Regions from separate parts of the Homo sapiens genome. Here all the other regions are linked to region 1. The links are contacts of gene promoters, found by promoter capture Hi-C in blood cells and fetal thymus (Javierre and others, 2016). All regions are on one chromosome and are shown on one strand. The core of a region is centred on a gene start or on the middle of the fragment in contact, and the rest is flanking DNA. Distances in the headings are between cores, read along the strand shown.

Evidence for each region. Contacts are between HindIII fragments. The CHiCAGO score rates a contact against its expected background, and 5 or more counts as called.
Region 2: a contact is called between a fragment that was not itself captured here and the fragment with the promoter of EPHX1 in region 1, in 2 of 17 cell types (endothelial precursors and activated CD4 T cells). The highest score is 8.7, in endothelial precursors.
Region 3: a fragment that was not itself captured here is called in contact with the fragment with the promoter of EPHX1 in region 1 in 1 of 17 cell types (M0 macrophages); the score reaches 5.5 in M0 macrophages.
Region 4: a contact is called between a fragment that was not itself captured here and the fragment with the promoter of EPHX1 in region 1, in 1 of 17 cell types (total B cells). The highest score is 5.1, in total B cells.
Region 5: a fragment that was not itself captured here is called in contact with the fragment with the promoter of EPHX1 in region 1 in 1 of 17 cell types (endothelial precursors); the score reaches 6.7 in endothelial precursors.

The regions. Positions count from the first base shown.
Region 1 is chr1:225,808,123-225,811,388 of GRCh38, reverse strand. It overlaps EPHX1 (epoxide hydrolase 1), which reads right to left and starts at 1,265. Exons shown (of 9, transcript NM_001136018.4): 1 at 1,220-1,265. RefSeq lists a silencer at 1,088-1,307. The HindIII fragment of the contact is 4,776 bases long and covers 1-2,299 here.
Region 2 is chr1:225,485,482-225,488,718 of GRCh38, reverse strand. It overlaps ENAH (ENAH actin regulator), which reads left to right. Exons shown (of 14, transcript NM_018212.6): 14 at 1-1,890. It overlaps LOC124904526 (a long non-coding RNA gene), which reads right to left. Exons shown (of 2, transcript XR_007066903.1): 2 at 1,885-2,165. Among named protein-coding and RNA genes, the nearest start is that of LINC02765, 19 kb to the right of the region's middle. The HindIII fragment of the contact is 674 bases long and covers 1,339-2,012 here.
Region 3 is chr1:225,442,904-225,446,506 of GRCh38, reverse strand. No RefSeq gene overlaps it. Among named protein-coding and RNA genes, the nearest start is that of LBR, 17 kb to the right of the region's middle. RefSeq lists enhancers at 1-356, 1,252-1,301, 1,802-1,871 and a cis regulatory region at 1,158-1,697. The HindIII fragment of the contact is 389 bases long and covers 1,392-1,780 here.
Region 4 is chr1:225,548,716-225,552,218 of GRCh38, reverse strand. All of the region lies in intron 3 of ENAH (ENAH actin regulator), which reads left to right. Among named protein-coding and RNA genes, the nearest start is that of LINC02765, 83 kb to the right of the region's middle. RefSeq lists an enhancer at 2,727-3,226. The HindIII fragment of the contact is 220 bases long and covers 1,760-1,979 here.
Region 5 is chr1:225,512,035-225,515,397 of GRCh38, reverse strand. ENAH (ENAH actin regulator) reads left to right here. Exons shown (of 14, transcript NM_018212.6): 7 at 498-802; 8 at 2,382-2,527; 9 at 2,684-2,741. Among named protein-coding and RNA genes, the nearest start is that of LINC02765, 46 kb to the right of the region's middle. The HindIII fragment of the contact is 516 bases long and covers 1,741-2,256 here.

The DNA.
Region 1 (3,266 bases), core at 16-2,515:
GGGGCGGATCCAGGCTTTGCGGAACCTGAAGTTTAAACAATGGGAGGTGGGCTATGGAGGGGGCATTCAACTTTAAGAAAAAAAAGTCAAAATTAGGATTACAACATTGCTAGGCACCCCACCTCCAAGATCTCGGGAGCCGCCAGGGCAAGGAAGGAGCCAGAAGCTCAGAGAAAACCGACATCTGCCAGGGAGGGAGGCAGGCGGCCACTCGGTCTCCGCGGCGCTTTTGCTCAGGTTGACCACATTCCCTGGCTTCAACTACAAGGTGAACTCCCGGGCAAGTTTCCTGTTCTACAAGAGGAGAGGGCTGGCCTTCAATCCCGAGACCAGAGCGAGGGGGTGCCGGGCGGCGGCTGCGGCAGCAGATGGAGATGAAAGCGCATTTCAACTAAAAGGTGTGATCAGTGTCAGGCCTCTGAGCCGAAGCTAAGCCATCATATCCCCTGTGGCCTGCACCTACACATCCAGATGGCCGGTTCCTGCCTTAACTGATGTCATTCCACCACAAAAGTGAAAATGACCTGTTCCTGCCTTAACTGATGACATTGTCTTGTGAAATTCCTTCTCCTGGCTCATCCTGGCTCAAAAGCTCCCCTACTGAGCACCTTGTGACCCCCCCCACTCTGCCCGCCAGAGAACCCCCCTTTGACTGTAATTTTCCTTTACCTACCCAAATCCTATAAAACGGCCCCACCCCTATCTCCCTTGGCTGACTCTTTTCGGACTCAGCCCGCCTGCACCCAGGTGAAATAAACAGCCATGTTGCTCACACAAAGCCTGTTTGGTGGTCTCTTCACACGGACGCGCATGAAAATCAGTGTTCCGACTTGGGTGACAAATTAAGTGCATTTCACCGCCGAGCGAGCCACGGCCCTGGAAGCAGAGCTCGCCCAGGCCAGGGGACGCGGTGCGCTCTCGGGGTCGCGAGCCTCCCTCCCTGCGGCGTCCGCCCACAGTCTGGGACGCGGAATTCCCTGCGAGAAGTCCGCGGTCGCCTGCAGGCTCCTTCCCCCAGTAGGCGGCACGCGCAGTCTCCTGGCCGGGGCAGGAGCTGGGGGCGGACCAACTACAAGTCCCTCTGCACCCCTGCGGGCCGACCGCAGCCCCGACCCCTCGGCGCCCCGGCCCGCCGCCCACCCCGGCGGCCGAGCCCGCGCGGAGCCCGAACCGCGTCTGCGTCCGGGGAGTGCGGGCCCGGCCGGCCCCGGGCGCTTACGGTCTCGGCTCGCAGGCTCCGGCGGCGGCAGGCGCGCGATCTCTCCGGCTCCCTGGCTCTCCTCGGCTAGTTTTCAGCAGCCCCGGCGCAGTCTCCGCCCAAGCCCGGCCTCCGAGCGGGGCGTTCCCCGGCCTGGAGGACCCGGGAAAGTCTCTAGGCCTGCCTAAGGCTCCACCTCTGCCAGGGATAAAACGGGCTACTTAAAGGGCGGTCCGCGGCCCCGCGGCCAGAAATGGAGAGAAGCGTTTGGCAGCTCCTACAGCAGTTTGATCCCGTAACTTCGTCAGTTGAATCTAAAAACAAAAATCCAAACTTGCATGATGTATGTCCTTTTTTTTTTTGGAGACAGAGTCTCACTCTATCACCCAGGCTGGAGTGCAGTGGTGCGATCTCGGCTCACTGCAGCCTCAAGCGATCCTCCCACTTCGGCCTCCAGAATAGCTGGGACTACAGACTGCGCCACCACACCTGGCTAATTTTTTAAGTTTTGTAGATACGGGGGTCTCACTTTGTTGCCTAGGCTGATCTTGAACTCCTGGGCTCAAGCGATGCACCTACCTCCGCCTCCCAAAGTGGTGAGATTATGGGCGTGAGCCACTGCACCTGGCGGTGTATGTCTTTTTAATTTCATCTTTCTAGCAATTCATTCTTAGTATATTTAACAAACATATTGGTCCGTGACATGCTTGGAAATCTAAAAACAAATTAGTGTCTTTATACAGAGAATGTGAGAAGCAATGGTCTGAAGCACTCTTGGGGGTCTTCATGGTGAGGACCAGTATAGGATGCTGAGTTCAATGCCAGGGGAGCAACCTCTTAGTGAATCCCCTCCCGCTTTGGAGAGAGCTCAGGGCCCAGGCGGGTGGTTGCTGGGGCTCTTTTAGCTTCCGTGAGAGCGTTGATCCCCAGCCCCTCATCGTTAGAAAGCCTGTCCCATCGCCTCTGCCATCACCCCTCCTTAGCTTCTCTCTTCACCTGCTCAGAGGTGCAGTTCTTTCAACCACCAGCATCCTCACGATCTCGGTGGACAGACTACAGCTAGGAGGCCACATGCAGGGCCCGTGGCTGGAGTTCTAAGCTTCTGACTGTCACCTTGCACACTTCAGGATAAGGTTCACCACCACCCACCTTCCCTTGGCCTCCAACCTTTCTGCTCACCCTGGCCCAAGAATTCTGGCCGGCAGACGCACTCACCTCACTCCCACCTCCAAACTTTTGCTCTTGCAGTACTGCCGGACAGGGTGCCCTCCTCCATCCACATGTAGAGTCCTCTTGTCCTTTAATTCTACACCCTCCTATAAAAGCTTTCTCTTGCAACTGCAGTCTCTGACATCTCTGTATTCCTTTCAGAACCTGCAGTCTGGGAGAGTTCTTTCCCCTCCCCTCCAAATAGTTCACACAGAAGCTCTGCCTCTGGCCACTTCACCAGGGGACCCAAATTCGTTACTCTTAAAACTGCAGTGATGGTGAAACAGGTAGGAGTCAGGACTTAACGCCAGAGGTGGGGCTTGGACACCAGATTGAGGACCAAATTGAGGACTAGCTAAAACAGGGACTGGGTGGAAGATGAGCATAAGATATGCCCATCATATCAGTGTGCCATGTCAGTTTACCAGGGCACGCCCCTGGAGTTATCACCCCCCTTCCATGGCAATGACCCGAGGACCCAAAAGTTACTACCCTTTTCCTAGAAATGTCTGCATAAACTGCCCCTTAATCTGCATGTAACTAAAAGTGGGTATCAACATGACTGCAGAATCGCCCAGAGCTGCTGCTCTCAGCACACTGCCTGTGGGGCAGCCCTGCACTGCAGGAGCAGGCCCCCTCTGCTGCTGCTGGACACCGCCACCTCCATAAAAGTTGCTGTCTCACACCACGGGCTCTCTCTTGAATTCTTTCCTGGACAAAGCTAAAAACCCTGCTGGGCTGAGACCCAATCTGGGGTCTCAGCTGCCCTGCATCAAAACTCTTCTAAAATTAGATATTGGTGATGGTTACATCACTACAAGTCTGTAAATATACCAAAACCCGTGAAATTTTACACTCT
Region 2 (3,237 bases), core at 426-2,925, 320 kb after region 1:
CTTTGGGATTCATTTCTTGCTAGCATGAATAGGACATGCTTTTCGTTAGGTGCTTTTCTTTTTTGGAGAACATGAAGTGTTTCTAACAAAACTGAATGAGCTAGAAAGAATTCTATTTTGAGACATCTGTAGTTGATGCAAAGTATTTCTGTAATCCTCAATGACAGTACTTACATATTTGCATAGAATTTTTTTTTTAATTTTTGAGGAAACCTCTCTGGAGTCTGTATTTATAGGAGCATCCTGAAAGTCCCTATTATGTAGCTGGTGGGAGCGAGAGAGGGACAGCCACACTCGTGCTGTGAGCAGAGCACAACTTCAGGCAGAGTGAATGCCTTCTGAGTTCTCATTGGAAGCTTTCTGTTGCTCAGCCTCTGGCAGATTTCAGAACCTTCTACTTAAGCCAGGTGTGGTGGTGCGTGCTCCTAGGCACAGCGACTCGGGGGGCTGAGGCAGAAGGATCACTTGAGCCCAAAGTTGGAGGCCAGCCTGGGCAACATAGCGAGGCCTGTCTCCTTAAAAAATAAATAAATAAATAATAAATAAATAAATAAATAAAAACCTTGTCCTTGACTATTGTGCTGTCTGCTGCCCCTTTGTAGGGATGGGGTTGGGGTCAGAATAAGCATGTGCATGAATGGCGGAAAGCTTTGGTGGTGTTTGTTTGTTTGTTTGTTTTTTGAGAGGTGGGGGAGTCAGCAGTGAACCTTTCTGGTTAAAGAACAACGTACATAATTTCTATTATGAGATTTAGAAGGTTAAATACTTTTTTTTTTCAGGCCTACCAAGTTGATAGACCAAAAGTATATAGTAGAACAGCACAGTAGAAAAAATTTAAAAGTGAATTTCTTATGGTCCAAAAGGATGGATAGTCACAGTCCATAACCTTTCATAATATATGCTGGAATTGGAATCTCTTGTCATCTTGCTTTGCTCTGAATTTTAGAACTAGAAGTGTGCATGTATGTCAAAAGATTATGCAGAGCTATTTTCTTTGCTAACAATGTAAACATTTGCACCCCATGAATGGGACTTTATAATCTGGAAGTGAGCCTAAGGTTGCGTATACTGAAGTCATGTTTTAAAAGTTAAGGTTGACTTAAACATATACAAGGCTGTATTTTAATTGTAACTAGAAATCATTTACTATGCATACAGAACCTCATGTATCTTATCATGGAATTTGTGAATTAATGGGCCTTGCCGAATTCAAGGGTAAGGGAAACTGGTAACAACTTGTTTTAAATCAACATACTATAAGCTCCTGCTTGCTTGACTCAAGTTGTTTGAAAATCTGAATTAAACAGGATCTCATTGTCAGGAAACATCTTCTAAGCTTGACATCTACGTTTAAGAAGGGAACGTGGAAGAGAAGGTGAGACATGAAACTAAAACAGCTGGGAGGGTAGGATCAGACTGCACCTGATTTTTGGACCAAAGTTTCATATAGGAATAAATAAAAAGGAGGACCACTTGTGAGCCAACCTAGGAAGGACTTGCCAGAAAGTAGCAGCTCCTGCTGCAAAATACAGTGCCTTCAAAATGATTCTCTGTGTGAATTGCATGCAATTTCATGTAACCATAAAGTGTAACCTGTATGTGCATGACATGTGTCTAGAATGTGTAAAGTTAGGATTCAGCAGGAAGGGGCCTGGCCCTGTCACTGTGGTGGATCAGTGGACCTGCTGAAGTCACTGGACTCATGTGACTTAGGTTTGCAGCATCAGACCCCTGTGTTTGCATTAAGTGGCCACATCGTTGAAATCGGATCAATCTCTCCCTCAGCTTTCTTTCCTACTTTGCAGCTTTGCTGGTTTTAACTGCTTCATTCTTCTGCTTCTTGGTATCCTTTTTTCTTTTGAAATAAAAACATGAAATACTTAATTCAAATGAGATTTGTATTTATTTTACCAGTTGCTCTTAATTTACCAAAGGTATACGACATGAAAAGAGTTGCATTCTTTTGTCTTGGTTGTGATTCTGACCTTAAAATACGCTCAGTTCTAAAAGCTTGAGGAGCGTTCTATACTGGTCCTTCTGCATTTCAGCCTGTCACCAAGGGGAGTGTTTTGCGATCCGCCATCCTTTCCCTGAATGCTGCTGCTCCTCTATGACGGAAAGCTTGGTGACCTCTTCATTGGAGGCGTCCAAAGCCAGTGAACAGCCTGTTGGTAAATGAACGAGCTGCATGTACGTGCTATTTTCCTCCAGGACCAAATGCCCTGTGCATTTTAGTATTAAGCGTACTTACTGCAGGAACCAGTACTGGGACCACTGCAAAACTACACAATGGTGCAAGTGCTTTGGGGCTTTGAAGAGCTGAAGACAGACATAAGACTTAGTGTTCTCAGGCCGGGCATGGTGGCTCATGTCTGTAATCCCAGCATTTTGGGAGGGGTGGGCGGATTGCTTGAGTCCAGGAGTTCAAGACCAGCCTGGGTGACATGACGAAATCCCGTCTCTACAAAAAAAAAAAAAAAAAAAAAAAAGGACTTGGTGTTCTCACTTTGTGACCATCCTGCCCCTCACTGGAGGTCCCTAGAGGCAGGTGCCTTTCAGCTAAGAATATCTGGGAGTCTGTGGTTTGTGAGGAGCTTGCTGGCACATTAGTGTAAAGGGTGTGATCCTTTTAATGGCCACACTTTTCTGTATGATGTCTTTGTTTTCATTCTCTGATGTCAGGGAGGTGAAAAGAAGGCTCAGGTGAAAAGAAGGTTCATCAACTGAACCAGAGTAACTTGTCACCTCCTTTTTTGCCAGCCTCATTTCTAAATAGACTGAATGTCTGTTACCTCTCCTCTCCTTTTCAACTGAGAAGCCCTTGGTGTACAGCGGAAAGGGGCTGTAGGGGAATGCATTTTGCCACTGCAGTCATGAGCTGACCCAGCCTTCTGTATTCTTGGATGTTTTCATTCTAGGCTGAATCCCATTGTGTTATGGCAAAGAGGCCAGACCCTAAGAGACTATATGCTGAAAAGATTTGTGAAGCCCCTCAGTTCCCAGTAACTTTTGGAGCTTATTGTCATGAGATTGCTACCCTAGCCCTGGGCAGTGTGGGCAAGGACACCGTGGCACCTGGGCACTGAGTCCGGGAGTTGTATTTTAGCCTTCTCTCCTCTCAGCTGTAAAGTGAGGTGTTTAGGTCTTCAAAGGTCATTCCAGCTCCAGCTTCTATGGTTTCAATATGCTGGGGGTATCTGGCTGAGGCTCCCCACCCAGGTGGCCCAGCTGACAGTG
Region 3 (3,603 bases), core at 337-2,836, 370 kb after region 1:
AAGTTCACCCTGGGGGTGCTGCAGTCTGAAAGGTGTTTTGCAAAGACACGATCTTGGTTAGCCCTTCCCTGGCGCTATGCTGCAGGAAGCTTCTCACAGGGAATAGTCCACACTGTAATCTACCTCAGGCAGGTGTGCTGCTGGGAAACTCAGTTAATGATGTCTAATCTTTAAGAGCCATGGGAAACTCAGGAAGACCTAGCTGGACAGATACTACTCAGACATTTTCTCAAATAAGTGTGGCAGAGCCACTCCTCATCTGGTTCTTCCAGTCTTAGTTACCTGCCGAGCCAGGTGTGGCAGGTGTCAGGTACAGGGATCTGGGAGCTCAGAGAGCAGTAGCAGGAGCTTTAGGCTTCAGTTTTTTCTCCCACTTGATGGCCCCAGACGCCTTGGTGAAGTGAAATGCTCCCTGCCTGGGGCTCCAGGATGCCTTCGAGTGACTGCCTTAAGGTTATTGTGTTTTCTTGTGGCTACGCCAGGATGTTCTGCTTCACCAAGCATTTCCATCCTCAATCGTCATGTCCCTACTGAAACTCTGTGTTCTCTTCTCAAGCAATTTTCTGGTAAAAACATTTTCCTGGCTAGCCTGTAAGCATTGCTGTCTAGCTTTTGTGTTAGCACTGATTCAGATGGCCACTACCCACTCTGTGCAGCAGACTTTCAAGACCAAGCAGACTGATAGGCAGGCAGGAGGGTGGAGTTCTCTACCTGCTGGAATGCCCTGAGGCCCAGAGAAGGGATGGACAGGGCATCAGTGTCTCTCCCGTGTCTCTCTTGCCTTCAACCACTGACTCACCCATGTTGTTTCTCACTTAAGTTAAAACACACAGAGGGGCTGTTCTTAGAGAAAGTCTAACTCGGCTGGGCGTAGTGGCTCACGCTTACAATCCAGCACTTTGGGAGGCCGAGGCAGGCAGGTCATCTGAGGTCAGGAGTTTCAGACCAGCCTGGCCAACATGGTGAAACCCCGTCTCTACTAAAAATACAAAAATTAGCTGGGCATGGTGGCGCACACCTGTAGTCCCAGCTATTCAGGAGGCTGAGGCAGAGAATCGCTTGAACCTGGCAGGCAGAGGTTGCAGTAAGCAGAGATCACCATTGCACTCTAGCCTAGGTAACAAGATCGAAACTGTCTTAAAAAAAAAAAAGTCTAACTCTACTTTTGATCAAATTGTATTCTTGCAAACAATTTTGCAAGAAATTGATTGTCTCATTTTGATGCCATGATGACATTTTGGGAAATGTTTCCAAGTTGTTACAGTTTTCTAGCTGCCAGGACCTGGGTGCTTCCTGTGGCAGACAAAGGGTGACTCCGCGCATAGGGTGCCAAGAGGGAGGGCTCCACTCCATTCTGAACTTTTACACATCAGCCTCCTGCAAGATAAGCTTCCTGGTTTTCATATTACAACATGAACCAAACCGCAGAGGTTATGACTTCTCTGTGTTTTAAGCCCTGCCCACTTCCTGCTCACGTGCCTGGTCTGCAACGACCATTTATTTCAGGATGTGAAGTCAAAAGCAAAGCCCAAACAATAGTGAGCGGCTTCTGAGCCAAGCTCGTCAGCCTGCTAACCCACTCAGAACTGCCCCATCTTCAACATGAACAAGTGCTTCTGGAACAAATACCAGCCAATTTCACACAGTCCAGGCCTTTGACATGAAATACGGATCAGCTCTACATTTATGCACGACAATGTCGATTTGTTATCTGTTGGAGTGATTGTATACCTTCGGTGGTAGAACTGAGGTTCCCAGGGGAGCTATTAAGAAAAAAGCTTTTCTGGCACGGGTGCGGTGGCTCACGCCTGTAATCCCAGCACTTTGGGAGGCCAAGGCTGGTAGATCACCTGAGGTCAGGAGTTCGAGGCCAGCCTGGCCAACATGGTGAAACCCCATCTCTACTAAAAATACAAAAATTAGTTGGGCGTGATGGCGCATGCCTGTAATCCCAGCTACTTGGGAGGCTGAGGCAGGAGAATTGCTTGAACCTGAGAGGCAGAGATTGCAGTGAGCCAAGATCGAGCCACTGCACTCCAGCCTGGGTGACAGAGCAAGACTCCATCTCAAAAAAAAAGAAAGAAAGAAAGAAAGAGTTTTTCTGGCTAGGTGTGGTGGCTTATGCCTGTAGTCTCAGCTACTTGGGAGGCTGAGGTGGGAGGATTGCTTGAGCTGGGGGAGTTTGAGGCTGCAGTGAGCTATCACACCACTGCACTCCAGCATGGGTGACAGAGCAAGACCCTGTCTCGGGGGAGAAAAAAAAATGCAAATGCTTTCCTGACAGAACTAAGAGAGTTTGGAACTAGGGTTCTATAAAGTCAGCCCTGGTGTGGGACTTCTGTTATTACAGAGAGTACAGAAAGTGTCCTAAAAGGACAGCTGGGTGGCTGGGCATGGTGGCTCACATCTGTAATCCCAGCACTTCGGGAGCAGAGGTAGGCGGATCACCTGAGGTCAGGAGTTCGAGACCAGACTGGCCAACATGGTGAAACCCTATCTCTACTAAAAATACAGAATTAGCTTGGCATGGTGGTGCATGCCTGTAATCCCAGCTACTTGGGAGGCTGAGGCAGGAGAATCATTTGAACCCAGGAGGTGGAGGTTGCAGTAAGCTGAGATTGCACCATGGCACTCCAACCTGGCCAAAAAGAGCGAAACTCCATCTCAAAAAAAAAAAAAAAAAAAAAAAAAAAAAAGACAGCTGGCCAAACAGCAATAGGCTGATCATGTGTATTTAGCGCACATGGGCACAGCCCATGGCACCAAGGGGGACATCGAGGTCACAGATGAAAAGACTTGCTCTCATAGTGCTTACAGTTTATGAGCCAACAGCCACGTTAAGCAACAGCCTTCACTGGATATATAATTAGGGGTGGGGTAGACACTTTCTACACCAAAGACAACTCTTTAGGCTCCAGATGGGATTCCGGCTGCTCCTGACTGGTCTCTCTTAGTCCTTCATACATCACACACCGTGGACTCTGAGTTACACGCCACTGGTCTCTCTTCCCAGCTCAGCCACTCACTCCGTGTGTCAGCCGGAGCAGGTCATTCAACCATTCTTTCAGTTTCTTCACCTGTGGAATGGGGATAAATGGACCTATCTCACAAGGACATTGAAAGGATTAATAGAGCGATTGCATGCAAAATGCTGGCACCTAGTGGAGTTGTAATCAGAGTAGAAAGACACTATCATGCGTCTCTGTATTCCCAGATACTGGCTGGCCTGCAGCGAGCCACAGCGTTACCATGGGTGGGCCCGTGGGAAGGGGCAAGCATTGACCTAACTCCTCACATTTCCTTATTTTTCTCTCCCCTCTGTTATATCCTTTCTAAATAGTCATTCCAGGATATACAACTCCCTGCCCCTGAACACTTCTGTGGGGTGGCCTGGCTGAGAGCCCAGATTCCCAGGAGAGCCCTGCACGCAGCCAGCTCTCTGTCGCCCCCCTCTCAGGAGAGGCAGGTGGGCAGACCCTGAAACCTAACAGTCCTGAAACGCGCTGAGCATGTCCACGTTACCACAGCAGCCAGGTCACCTCTCCAGGGTGGCATCTTTTCTGCCTCCATTCTTCTTCTTCCTTACCATTTTTTTTTGGCCCT
Region 4 (3,503 bases), core at 620-3,119, 260 kb after region 1:
CTTGCAGTGAGCTGAGATCGTGCCACTGCTCTCCAGCCTGGGCGACTGAGCAAGACTCTGTCTCAAAAAAAAAAAAAAAAAAAAGAATCAGGAGTGTTCTTGGGAATAGATATAATTTCTTACGCAGATTCTCCAGTGTAGAAAAGGTATGTACCCTACCCCAACATTATATGGGCCACCTCCCCTTTATCTAAACAAACATACCCAATAATGTCACCTCTCAGTTTGATCATACCCTGCCAAAAATCTTTGCTTTGGATTCACAGCCAATTGGCTGCTGAAATCATCTACTGTCTTTCTTCCAAAACCAAGTTGAAAAAGCTTAACTTACATCTCCCTTCCCTTTACAAACTGTAGCCTGATAAAACTGATGAGAAGCAGAACAAACTTATTGATAAAGCAACTACAAATATTAGTCTTGCCTGTTTCTTAATGTTTTACCACTTGTTAAAACATTTTTCCATATTAAACATTTCTGTTTGTATTTTTATTTATTAGGTGCTAATATCAATATTATCCACTGTTGTCATCGGCTAATCCTTCTCAGTGATTTTCAGACTTTAAAAAGTTATGGACATTTTTGTGCAAATGAGATCTTTGGTAGTTCAGTGTATAAATGGACAGAAAATATGGAGCTTCTCTGATTGATATAGGGTTCCGGATCCGCAACCACTGAGATGCCTCCATGGTTCTCTAGAACTGAATTTGAAAATTACTAGCTCACGTTTTGTGCTAAAACCAATAATCACATAATTTTCCTTTCCTCTTCTTCCGTGTCCCCTACGTCCTCAAATTTTTTAAATTTATAAAAAACAGCTTTCTGGGGGGCTAGTCATACCAACCTTTACAAGGTGCTCTGTGTGTTTGTGTGATATTTCCTTTTTTTAATGAAAATGGTGGGTGGCAGAAATGTTTTCCTTTATTTTGTTTTTAACTTGGTATGCAATTATCTAATATACTGGAAAGTACAGAAGGTGCTAAATACAGTGAGTTATATTTGGAAGTTAAAAAAACACAAATCACATGTTCTAACATTTTTGAAAAAGAGCTGAATTAGTGCTCTTCCTTTTATACCAAATGCTACAGTGTATTTTTTCCTTTCTCCATGGAAATGGATTCAATTTTAAATGGGTGTATTACCTAAAGTGATATTTTTGATTTCTCTATTATTTATCCAGTACATTTATAGATTTTTATAGGTAATAGTTATGGATTATATAAACTACAAAGTTAATTTTTGTGATAATTGGTGGAGGCAAATTTGCCCAACTTTTATTTTCTTAAAAGGTTTAAATCATTTGAAAATAGGAAATAATTTTTAAATCCAAAAAAAAGAAAATTATATGCATAACCAGTAAGATTATCCCACTGCTTTTGTTCTCAGCCAAGATGAAGCATGCCTTTTCAAAAAGAACACCCCAAAATAAGTATTTTACCATTATCTAAAAGACTACTTTTGCTGGGTTTTATTTTTTAATCTATTGAACATGAGAACATGGTCAAAAGTCATACCTTCCTTATGGTTGAAATTTTCTAGAGGTTTTATAATATTGAGATTTCATTTTTTAATGATAATTTGGCCTGACATACCTTCCAGTATGTACATTTGTATGAGTTTTATCACAGCATTTAAAAATCTCTTTATGTTTGGAATTAATAGGATTAAAAAAATCTCAGTAGTTTCTAGAAATACTTTATAGTGACAGTTTTGTTTTTTAGTCTTCCAGATTGTTGATATTAATGCAAACAATATTAAGCTTATATCACAAAAATATTTTCAGTAAAGCGTATTTTTTATAAACTGTGTTAGGCACTGGGAATAATACAAAAATGATAAATAAAGCCTGTCCCTTGCCTGATGTCACAGTCGGGCTACAGCTGCCAGAAACAAGGCCAGCAAAATTAGGATACAGCTTGCGAATGTAGTGTGAAGAAAGGCCTTCGGAATACCAAAGAAAATTCTAGGGTCAGGGAAAGCTTTGAAGAGAAGGTGATGTTTCAGCTATGTTTGAAGAATGGGGAGGGCTCATCAGTGATAGAACATTCTAGATAGGTTTGGAAGCATGAGAGCATGGAGCAATTGGGAAATAACAAATATGCCATGATGTGGCTTGGACATGAGAATTTATGTGGTGGGGGTCAGGAGCAGGGCATCCCAAGAGATAAGGTTGGGAAGGGCCTAGTGCTGACGAGTGTGCATGTTATCATGGAGGTGGTGAAGAGTCATTGAAGGATGCTAAATAAAGGATTGATATGATCAAGTTTGTGCTTTAGGACAAGTGTGGTGAGCATGCAAGTTTACAAGCATGAAGATCAATTCAGGACACTGTTGTAATAATACCGGTGAGAAAGATGAGGCCTGAACTGACAAAGTAGAGAGAGGAGAGGAGCAGAATGAAGAGGAGGTGACCAGCTTTCATTTAGTGCTGGCTATACCTGCCACGGCAGTGTTCTAGCTTTCTACCTTTGTCCTCACATAGAAATTAAAGCCATTCTGAGGCAGGAATAATGATCTATTTATTGGTCACCTTCTGTGTGCTTGGTCTTAATCTGGCGTATACATAACCAATCATCTTTATAACAACCCTACAAGGTTGGTGGTATTATCCTTGTTTTAGAAATGAGATTGGCACTTACAGAAGGTCACTACTGTAGTGATGCGAGGACCCACAGCTAGACAGTGGCATTAGTGGCTTTTGTACCGAGGTCTTAGAACTCAACCTCTTTTCTCTTTGTCAGTAAGATGTAATGGGCAGGCCGGGAAGGAGAGAACAGTGTTTTAAAATGATGACCAGGTGTGTCAGTTTGGGCCCCCGGTAAAGATGGTCCTGTTAACCAGAGACAGAGTGAAAGAGGATGGAAGAGGAAATACTGTGCTGCAGATAACACATTTGGTTCTGGATATACTCCATTTGCGGTTCTTTATTAATGCTTTCATGAAATCTTAAAAATTTGGACCTGAAAAGAATCCCAAAGATAACCCTGGACAAAGTTTTTTAGTTTAGCTTTCCGAAACAACTAATCTTATTGGAGAATTAACATTTTGAACCCTATAAAACCTATCTGTTTGGCCAGGTGCGGTGGCATACACCTGTAATCCCAGCACTTAGGGAGGCCGAGGCGGGTGCATCACTTGAGACCAGGAGTTCGAGACCAGCCTGGCTGATATGGTGAAACCTCATCTCTACTAAAAACGCAAAAATTAGCTGGGCGTGGTGGCGGGCACCTGTAGTCCCAATTACTCGGGAGGCCGATGCAGGAGAATTGCTTGAACCCGGGAGGCGGAGGTTGCAGTGAGCTGAGATCGTGCCACTGCACTCCAGCCTGGGTGACAAGAGTAAAAACTCTGCCTCAAAAAAAAAAAAAAAAAATCTGTTCACTAAGTATTAAGTGAGTAACAGGTTTGGGGATTGGGTAGGTGGGGACAGTCTTTTCGTAGGTCTGCCTGCTCTACTTTCTTCTCATACTTACCTCTCACAGTCCTCCCTTTTGTGAATCACAGT
Region 5 (3,363 bases), core at 749-3,248, 300 kb after region 1:
TCCTCCTTCATGTTTTTAATACAGCCACTTTGACTGTAAACAATTAAATGTATGTGTTCACTGTTACTGAATTTACTGTCTCAACACTTAAGGTTAATGTGGATTATTTTGGGTCTGATATTTCAAGTAGTACTAACTGCCATCCTATATACTAGTTTGTTTTTTCAGGGACGCTTACCTCTCTTCCAAATTTTATAAGTATTTATTTTGCTTATTTACCAAATCCCCATGAAAAAAAAAAGTCTTAATTAGATGATCTGTTGCATAGTTCTATTACTAAAGCTCTAACCTAAAGTAAGTAGTTATATATACTTGGACCTTACATTTCAGTATCTTTCAAAAACTGATCTAGACTTTTACAACTATGATAAATTGGACTCATTAAGTAAATACATGAGTCAGTTTAATTTAGCATGGCATTCTGCGTACCTTCCCACATAAAATAATATCACTCAGCTCTATTGTTGATGGTCTTACTTAACATTTCTCTCTCTCAGGCATTGTCTTGGGACCACTTGCACCTCCACCTCCTCCACCACTCCCACCAGGGCCTGCACAGGCTTCAGTAGCCCTCCCTCCTCCCCCAGGGCCCCCTCCACCTCCTCCACTCCCATCCACCGGGCCTCCACCGCCCCCTCCTCCCCCTCCTCTCCCTAATCAAGTACCCCCTCCTCCTCCACCACCTCCTGCCCCACCCCTCCCTGCATCTGGATTCTTTTTGGCATCCATGTCAGAAGACAATCGCCCTTTAACTGGACTTGCAGCTGCAATTGCCGGAGCAAAACTTAGGAAAGTGTCACGGGTAAATACCTTTCTGAAAAATTTTTTTAATATGTCTTATTCTTCCTAAATATCTAAAATGTTGAATTTATTGTATTCTAATTTTATGAAATGTTATGAACTTCATTGATTTAAAAAATTGAAATAATTTACCCTGGCGCAATGGCTCATACCTGTATAATCCCTGCACTTTGGGAGGCTGGGGTGGGCGGATCACCTGAGGTCAGGAGTTCGAGACCAGGCTGGCCAACATGTTAAAACCCTATCTCACTAAAAATACAAAACTTAGCCAGATGTGTGACACATGCCTATAATCCCAGCTGCTCGGGAGGCTGAGGCAGAAGAATCGCTTGAACCCGGGAGGTGGAGGTTGCAGTGAGCCGAGATCATGCCACTGCGCTCTAGCCTGGGTGACAGAGTAAGACTTTGTCTCAAAAAATAAAATAAATAAAAATTAAAAATTGACATAATTTAAATTTTTATAGTGAAGTTGTAAGAATAGTATAAATAATTTCTATAAATTCATCACCTACATTCACCCATTAACATTTTACCAGTATTTGCTTTTTTATTCCTTCTTTGGATATGTTTCCTTCTTTACACATGCACTTTTTTTGTTTTTTCTCTTGAGACGGAGTTTCACTCTTGTTATCCAGACTGGAGTGCCATGGCGCGATCTCAGCTCACTGCAACCTCCACCTCCCAGGTTCAAGCGATTTTGCCTCAGCCTCCTGAGTAGCTGGGATTACAGGCACCCACCACCATGCTTAGCTAATTTTTGTATTTTTAGTAGAGATAGGGTTTCGCGATGTTGACCAGACTGGTCTTGAAATCCTGACCTCAGGTGATCCACCCGCCTCAGCCTCCCACAGTGCCGGGATTACAGGTGTGAGCCATCGCACCCGGCCTACACATGCACTTTTGTTTGAATGATTTGAGAGTAACTCAGAGACACAAGCTTCTATTTTCCTAAGTACCTCAGTGTGAATTTTATAAGAACAAGGACATTTACCTGCATAACCAGTAATATAATTATCAAAATCAGGAAAGTTAACATGATAGAATACTGTAATCTACAAATGTATTATTCAAATTTCATCTATAGTCCAATGACATCTTTAGTGACAGTTTTTTTCCTAGTGCAAGATCATTTATTGCATTTAGTTATAATGTCTCTTTGATATACTTTATGACAGTTCCTCAATCTTTCATAATACTGGCATTTTTGAAGACTGTAGGACAATTATTTTGCCTGTTATCCTTCACTTTGGCTTATCTGATTTTTCCTCAAGATTAGATTCTAGTTATGCAGGGGTTGTTTTAGCAGGAATATTATCAGAGCAAAGTCATGCCCTTTTCATGGCAGCACAGGAAGAGATACATGATACTGTTTCATTGCATTCTTGGTGATAGTAGTTTTGATAAACTCTTGTTGATATATAAAGTCATGCTAAGAATCTATTGGTTCTTAAAGCTTAAAAAATAATATTTAGGTTTTTTAAAATTAATGCTGATGTTTCCTTCTGTTTTAGATGTAATATATTAATAAAAATATGGTTGTCTAACATAGGAGTTGATTATGTCTGTATATTCTCATTAAGATGGAGGATACCTCTTTCCCAAGTGGAGGGAATGCTATTGGTGTGAACTCCGCCTCATCTAAAACAGATACAGGCCGTGGAAATGGACCCCTTCCTTTAGGGGGTAGTGGTTTAATGGAAGAAATGAGTGCCCTGCTGGCCAGGAGGTAAGGAATTTCATTATAATGGACATGCCCAGAATTGAGAGGATTTTAATTGTATTCCAAATACAACTAACTAGATGCACTTCTTTCCTCGTAGAGAAGTGGTTTTTATACTGAATCAGATAATATTTTTAAAAATCGGATTTGCCTTCTTTGTAGGAGAAGAATTGCTGAAAAGGGATCAACAATAGAAACAGAACAAAAAGAGGACAAAGGTGTAAGTTAATAAAGATAGTCTACCATACCTTAAAATATGGAATTCAGGCACAGCTCATTCAGGAAATAGTGTCAGCATTTATTTAATTTGGGCTTAATTAGTTTGAACTTATATTTGCTAATTTTTAACTATGCATGTGAAGTGGCTTGTTTTGACTGTTATTTATAAATTTTTAATGGCAGTCTTAGTAAAGTGAGTTGAATATGTGAAATTATGGGAAAAGCATTGAAGTTCAAACCTGTGGAGTTTAATTCTGTTCCTTAAATGAGTGAATGACATTTCACTACTTTTTTCATCTCTTAGAATCTCAGTTCCCTTGCATTAATTTAAAAGGAAGGAATTCGCCTAAATTCATATGTTTCCCTTAGGAGCTTGATGGTTATTGGCTGTGCCCCTTCAGAGTGTAACCTTCATGCCCTCCTCCCTGATTCAGCTGGGCAAACTCTGCTTTGTCTGTGCTGTATATTGGTGTGCAACAAATAATATGTTCCCCCTGCTCCATCTGGCCACCTTAGATGCCATTCCTCAAATCTGTCTCTCGTGTCTGGCTTTGTAGCATTGGCTAGTGAAAGTTCTCAAGGAGAACACATGAGGAAAGGAGCTGTGGGGAGGGTTGAAGGGA